2 separate regions of the Homo sapiens genome follow, and region 1 is linked to region 2. Evidence: promoter capture Hi-C in 16 types of primary human blood cells and fetal thymus (Javierre and others, 2016). All regions are on one chromosome and are shown on one strand. The core of a region is centred on a gene start or on the middle of the fragment in contact, and the rest is flanking DNA. Distances in the headings are between cores, read along the strand shown. Region 1 holds the start of LOC105377209 (a long non-coding RNA gene). Region 2 holds the start of CLCN5 (chloride voltage-gated channel 5).

Region 1 (3,387 bases), core at 259-2,758, 2.3 Mb before region 2:
GGTTACGTTCAGTGAAGAGGTTGTCGTTGATATTATATGTTCCATGCTTTTCATGATCTGTCACGTGCCTACATTCCCACCTCATCCTCTGCCTCCCCAATGTGTACCTTTTGCCATAGTCACTGTGCTCCTCTAGGGAGCAATGAGTGCTACTGAGTAAACACATGTACATTGTCTCTGCATGTGCAAGGACCCTTGTGACAAACACATCTATTGAGAGTCACGATTCCATGTCTGTGGGTGGCCTCCCATGATAATCCTCTTAGTTTCCACTCTTTTGTTTGCTATTCTCTGGAGTCAGATGGATAAAGCTTCAGTTTCCCAGGTAACCAACCATGGATCTGAGCTGAGTGACCCAGTGCCGATGTGAAGAAGAATGTTGCCAAGACAACGGAATCCATACCCCTTTCCAGCACTGAGGCCTTCCTCCCTCTCACTACCTGCTTGGATCTCAGGTGAGAATGGGAATTTGCTATGGCTAAAAGCGAGGGGATAGATGTGTGGTAGAGGGTTCCAGGAGAGAGGAGAAATCTTGGGATCCCCTCAGAAGGGACTGGAGGGGGGACAAGAGTCACCAAGAAAGCCTGCTGCTGGGCACTGAGATCCCAGGAGACAATGATGACTATGAAAATGCAGTGGTTCTAACATGTGGTTCTGTGATTTTCTCCAGCAGTACACAGAGCTACGAATATTTTCTGACTCTAAGCTCCAGGGCATAGACCCTGAGAAAGAATTTCTGTGTTCATAAAGGGCAGTGGAGCCTGGTATCACTTGTGGAGGGCAGCTGTAAGCCTTGAGGAGGCCCTGCTCACCTCAGCAATAACTCTCATCTGTTACTCCACTCTGTGTGTCTCTCTTCTGGTCCTCTCCTCTTTCTGTGCTCTGTTGTCAGGGTCAATTTATAACAGGTTAAAATTGTCCTCGGTTAAAGGAGAAGAGGAGGCAAGGATGTCTCAATGCCCTCTTCCACGGACTGATAAGACAGTGGGCAGAGGGGGAGCTGGAAGAGATGGTGTGCAGAGACCACAAATTAATTCGTGCTTCTCAGACCTGATTGGGGGCTTTGATGCATTTACTTGCTAAGACTGATCTGATCTTCATTATGAATGTATAACCTCTGTACTGGACAAGAAGGTGAGAAAATACTGGAGTTATGTTTAATCTGGTGTCAGCTGATGCTATCATGTGAATGGTCCATTTGTATAAATGCTCACCCTGTTTTGCTGAAAATGATCAGTCTCCCAGTTTTCTGCCCCACCTCCCTACTCCTTTCCAAGATGATTAATGGTGCGTATGGCTTTCCAGTCTTCATGGTGATAATGGGAAGGGGTCGGTGACATCTTATGTTGATTGCAGTGTTCTCGGTGGCTTGTGAGGGAATCTGGTGCTCCCAGGCTGACTCGGCCTTGGCCCACCCGTGCTGGCATCAGCAGACCCCTCTGAATCTGGGCCTCATCTCCCTCCCACATCTGGGCAGGGCTGTCCACACCACAGCCTCAGCTGCAGGGTCACCTAGCCCCTATCTGGCTTATGCTTGTTTCATGGTAGCACCCCTGGCTCTTGAATCAGCCACTTCCACAGTCCCCCTCTCAGAGAATGTTAGCTCCCTGCAGGAACCAAGATCAGCTCCAAAAATAGAAATTCCTGAACTCCAGCCATTATTCTAACCAAGGAGCTCACTATTTCATCCTGCAAAAGTAAACTTCTGAGTCCTAAATTTCAGTTGGGCAAAAATCTCTTTATTTGGAACTCCCTTCCACTTCTCTGACACACCTGTCACATGTAAGATAAGGCCCTTAGAAGAGAGACTGGGATGAGACACTGTCTCCATGCCTTCTACTCCCCCATGACTGGAACAGAACATTCTTTTGTTTTCCTTATCTTTCATGTTGACATAAGGATTCCCATATTAAATCCAGATCATAAAGGGAAGGCTTTAGGATTTGTACTTTCTCTTGTAGAATTCAAATTTATTTGGAATGTTTGAAGGAGATTGACTAACAGATAAAGAAACACAAAATGGAAGGGATTACCAAATACAAGTCAATACACTGTCAGTAGCAGGACAAGCTCTCTGTAAAAATAAACTTGGAGTTCAAAGGGAGTTGTATTAGTCAGGGTTCTCTAGAGGGACAAAAGTAATATATATATATCTATATGGGAGTTTATTAAGTAGTATTAACTCACACGATCACAAGGTCCCACAATAGGCCATCTGTAAGCTGAGGAGCAAGGAAGCCAGTCTGGGTCCAAAGCTGAAGATCTTGGAGTCTGATGTTCGAGGGCAGGAAGCATCCAGTATGAGAGAAAGATGTAGGCTGCGAGGCTGAGCCAGCCTAGTCTCTTCACGTTTTTCTGCCTGCCTTACATTCTGGCCGCACTGGCTGCTGATTAGATGGTGCCCACCCAGATTAAGGGTGGGTTTGCCTTTCCCAGCCCACTAACTCATATGTTAATCTCCTTTGGCAACACCCTCACAGACACACCCAGGATCAATACTTTGCATCCTTCAATGCAGTCAAGTTGACACTCAGTATTAACCATCACAGGAATCATCACGCTTTAAAAGGGGCCTACAAGGTGCTGCATCAGCGGTTTTTATATGTGTGTACAGAGAGCGTCACTTCTAAGCTATCTCTCCCCACCATTGTCTGGTAACTCCTGAGACTACTTGAGCATCAGAGACAAACTATCCTGAAGCTTGTGGTGTGTTCGCGGAGTTACAAGGGCAAGCTCAGGTGTCTGTTCATGTCTGTATTAGTCCTGAAGCTTTGTGGAGGCCTACATGACCTATTCATTAGCTAACATCTTCCTCATTCTCCCTCAAATTTATTGTATTTATGCCACTTAAAATATCAATAAAATAATTTTATGATTAAGAAGAAAAACAAGGCAGGGCAAAGAGGAGAGAAGACAGGGAGGGAAATAAAGAAGGAGGGAGGAGAGTAGCTTTGAGAAGGAGGGAGGTGTCAGATGTACTGAAGGCATCTGGACATATAGTGTAAAAGGATGAGGACGTGATCATAGTGTTAGGCAATATGAAGGCCATCGGTGCCTTTAACAAAAGCATTTTTCTGTTGAGAGGTGAGCAGGTAGAAGCTGCATTGAAGAGGTTTGTAATGATAATGATTATAGAACAAGGGAAGACAGATTTGCTGCTTGGAGCATCAGGGAAATGTGTCATTACCTTGGAGAAATATGGGATAAGGAACTGATTTCTGTTTTATTACATTTTGTATAAAATGTCAGAAACAAGAGCATGTTTATAGATGACAGAAGAATCCAGAATAAAGAAAGAATGTGACAATTCAGGAATAAGGGATAATCACTACAAAAGTCTCTACCTTGAGAAGGTAGAGGGCATGGGATTCAGGTGAAGGCCCGGCC
Region 2 (3,694 bases), core at 1,087-3,586:
GAGTCTCAGTTGATGAGTTGCTGGATGAAATCACCGTTAAGCACCTTTCCTACCTTGAAGTTTCATGCTTTGGAGACTGAAGAGCAACATTAATATCCAGTGCCCTAACCAACCCCCAAAATACCCAACTTTACATTTAAAAATCAGTAGAAGGAGAGGAAAGTTTATGAATAAAGTTTGGAAACAGATCTTGTATAGGGGAAAAAAAAGGAAGCGGAATAAAAAGTGAAGAGTGATGATACCCTTTGAGTAGTAGTTCTCTCTCCTTGTGTCATTATACTTTCCCACCCTTTGCAAATTTCCTATAGTGAGCGTATATTGCTTTTATAATCAGGGGGAAAATGAACCAAAGAAGAAGAAAAATGTAAAAATGGAATACCAGTTTAAAGAAAACCAAATTAATTCAGCTAATTCCTGTTGTTAAAACTTCAAATCCAGTCCTAGGACAATATTTGCAAAGATATTAAAGGAGTTAGGGGCCGGGTGCGGTGTAATCCCAGCACTTTGGGAGGCCGAAGCAGGCGGATCACCTGAGGTCAGTTCGAGACCAGCCTGGCCAACATGGTGAAACCCCGTCTCTACTAAAAATACAAAAATTAGCCAGGTATGGCGGTGCACTATAATTACAAGTGACGCCTGTAATCCCAGCTACTCGGAAGGCTGAGGCAGGAGAATCGCTTGAACCCGGGAGGGAGGCGGAGGTTGCAGTGAGCCAAGATTGTGCCACTGCACTCCAGCCTGGGCGACAGAACGAGAGCCGGCTCAAACCAAAAAAAAAAAAAAAAATAGGAGCTAGGAATGGGAGAAAAAATGAGAGGTCTGACGACTTAGTTTGACTTAGAGGCTTAACACTCTGCTTGCCCATTTAAACAAGATCTCAGTTAATAAACTGGTCTTCCCTACTTAGCATACAAGCCAATCTGTTTTTTCTAAAAGTCTTCACCTTTTTGACCTGGTGAACATCAAAGTAGATTGTTATTTCCATATCTTTTATACAACCAACACCTCCACCTCCTAAGTGAAAGTGCTAAAGCACAAACACTGAAGGCTAATACTAGCTTGAGAATCGTGTTGGCCTTCTTTAATGACAAAAGGGTTAATGTGTACACCAGTCCCAAAACACCAACAGAGAAAAGACAGTGCTTTGGACAAGGAAAAGTTCGCGAAGTCCAAGAAAACTAGGAACTCACAAACTCCTAGGGTGAATTCAGCAGGAAAAAGCGCTCCGATGACTTCTCTGAGACCTGGGACAGTCTGTTTTGATTTGCCTTTTTTCTTCTCCTATTTCGCGTGCAGTTAAGAAGTAATGATCATCGTCCCGTGGGACTAGGCGAAATTTAACATCCCTGAAGTTAAACCCGAGCAGTTGCTAATAAATGTATGAAGTTTATGTAAAGTTGATTCGTGCTGGTTTTTTATGCTCCAAACTTCTAGATTTCCCTCACTTACTCGGGGCAGCTTCCACTGACGTTATCGCACGGGCACAGGTACAACTTCACTGGGAACTCCAGGCAACTGATTTGCTCTGAAATGTTAATCAAAGGAAACGTGCGTCAATGTAAAGGCAAAGCTTTTCCCGTGTGGATCAAGGCGCTCAAGAGCAAGGCTCGAAAGTCTGGAGAGAACCAGCTACGCGCGTTAAGTGGCAAAAGGAAAACAGCGCAGCAACTACTTTTCCGAGAGTTTCTCCACTTTGCTAAGACCCATACAAAACCAGCGGCAAGTCCAGAGCCGGAGGGAGAAGAGCCGGGCCTCGGCTGAGCTTTGCCAGCCTAAGTCACCCTACCCCAGTCCGGGAAAGGGGACGCAGGCGGCTAAACACTCCGATTCAAAAGCGGGGCGGGCTTGGCGCCGCTCCGCAAGGAAACTTCGCTCGGGCAACCCAGGGACCATAACTCGGAGAACAGGGCTGGGCTCCCGGGAAGACGCCGCTCAGCACTGGCTGGAACTAGCCTGTCTACCTCCTCTAAGCGCCGGGCTGCCAACGCCGGGCGCGGGGAAGCCCCATCTCCGGGGGTCCAAGCCAGCGGGATTGCGCTTCCCCTGTGTCGCTGCGCTTAGGGGGTGCTCCGGGGGTGGGCCGGGGGCCAGCGGCCCGCCAAGGACCTGTTGGGGAAGGGACAGCCCGTTTGCCTTTACCTGTCGCCGAGGTCCGGAGCGGCGGAGCCCGTGTCCGCCGCCGGTGGGCAGCGCGCTCGGTCGGCTCTGGCGTCCAGGACACCAAGTTGAGTGAGCGCCCCACGTAGCCGGCAGAGCTTCATTCACACAGCCCAGCCGGGGAGGAGGGGGAGCGAAGCGGGCGCGCGGCTCATGTGACAGGGCGCCTCGCGAGTATCGGCTCAGCCCAGCCAGCGTCTGCGCGTGCGCGCCACGCCGAGCTCACACCCGGCACCTCTACCCAGCCGAGATGAGGGGAGGCCCGCCGGGGAGGAGCTGCCAGGAGGAGTTTCAACTTGCGCAGCCGCAGTACGTCGGCCCCGCTCGCTGCCATATTTAATGAGGACTGGGCGGGCGGGTCCTATCCCAGTGCTGGGCGTGTCAGTTGCCTTTGAAAACGCAATGCCCCATTGTGTTTCACTATTTCCAGCTTGCAGTGCCTTTTTTTGCTGGGGAGAAGGTTTGTCCTTAGAATGAAACTGTCTATCCTGAGCTTTCGGCCCACAGAGTAATTAGTAGTAGAAATCTAATACTAATAACATTAGATCACATAATTTGAGCTGCTTCTTATGTGCCAGGCACTCTCCTAACCCCTTTACTTTTTTCGTCTCATTTGGTGTTCACAATAACCCCGAGGGTTATTTCTCCATTTTTACTCATAAAAATACACAGGCACAGAAAGGTTAAGTAACTTGTCTAAACTCATATAATAGTAGGAATAGGAATAGTGATCAAACGTAGTGATACTTTTAACAGCCAACTTGATGTTTCCAGCAACGCTGCAAAAACTATACTGCAGTTGTTAGTACTGTATTATCTCCATATTAATCATTACAAAACAGAGGCTCAGAAAAGCTGAAGTCACAGGACTAGTACGTGGTAGAACTGGGAATCCAACCTAGGTCTAACTTACTCCAAAGCCCTTACCCTAGGTTTGAAAGAAACAGCACACCGTTTTGCAGAAGAGAAAACTTAGGCCAAATGGGGTGCACTGACTCACTTAAGATGATCCAGCTAATTAGTTCTTGGCAGACCTGAGACTGGAATCCATATAATCCAAGTAATCTAACTAGAACCAGGGTACTCTACTGCAGTGAACAATTTGGAATGCCTACTTTGGACAAGCTAAGTGGTCAGGGATTTAAAAACCCCTATCCTAGCCCAATCAGCATAAGGCTACCGGGGACAAATTTGTAATCCGACATAGTCAGGCTTTGACCCATTGCAATATGAGAGACTGCACACGGTAGGCATTTCATCAAACAGAAAAACATGGAGTCATTATAGGATTGGAGAGAAGAGTGGAGTTTAGGTGAATTTTAAACAAAGCAGTGTTTTTGGTAAGCTCAAAGCAAAGCAGTACTGTCATTTGGGGTCACCATCAGGTCTGAACTGCAAAGTGAACCCAGAGTTGTGTTTCCTTGGGAACCACAAAATAAAGATAGATGTGGAATGTTGTGTCCAGATACCCCTTATCTGAAGCTCTGCACCTGGGTTGGAAATTGAGGCTGCTTCTCTGTGTCAAAGAAACTTATGT

Evidence for each region. The method cuts DNA at HindIII sites, captures the fragments that hold promoters and counts their contacts. A CHiCAGO score of 5 or more calls a contact.
Region 1: a contact is called between a fragment that was not itself captured here and the fragment with the promoter of CLCN5 in region 2, in 3 of 17 cell types (non-activated CD4 T cells, neutrophils and total CD8 T cells). The highest score is 11.1, in non-activated CD4 T cells.

What each region holds. Positions count from the first base shown.
Region 1 is chrX:52,262,816-52,266,202 of GRCh38, reverse strand. LOC105377209 (a long non-coding RNA gene) reads left to right here and starts at 272. Exons shown (of 4, transcript XR_938385.3): 1 at 272-455. The HindIII fragment of the contact is 2,389 bases long and covers 314-2,702 here.
Region 2 is chrX:49,921,238-49,924,931 of GRCh38, reverse strand. It overlaps CLCN5 (chloride voltage-gated channel 5), which reads right to left and starts at 2,336. Exons shown (of 15, transcript NM_001127898.4): 1 at 2,140-2,336; 2 at 1,450-1,525. RefSeq lists a silencer at 2,025-2,074. The HindIII fragment of the contact is 4,286 bases long and covers 1,573-3,694 here.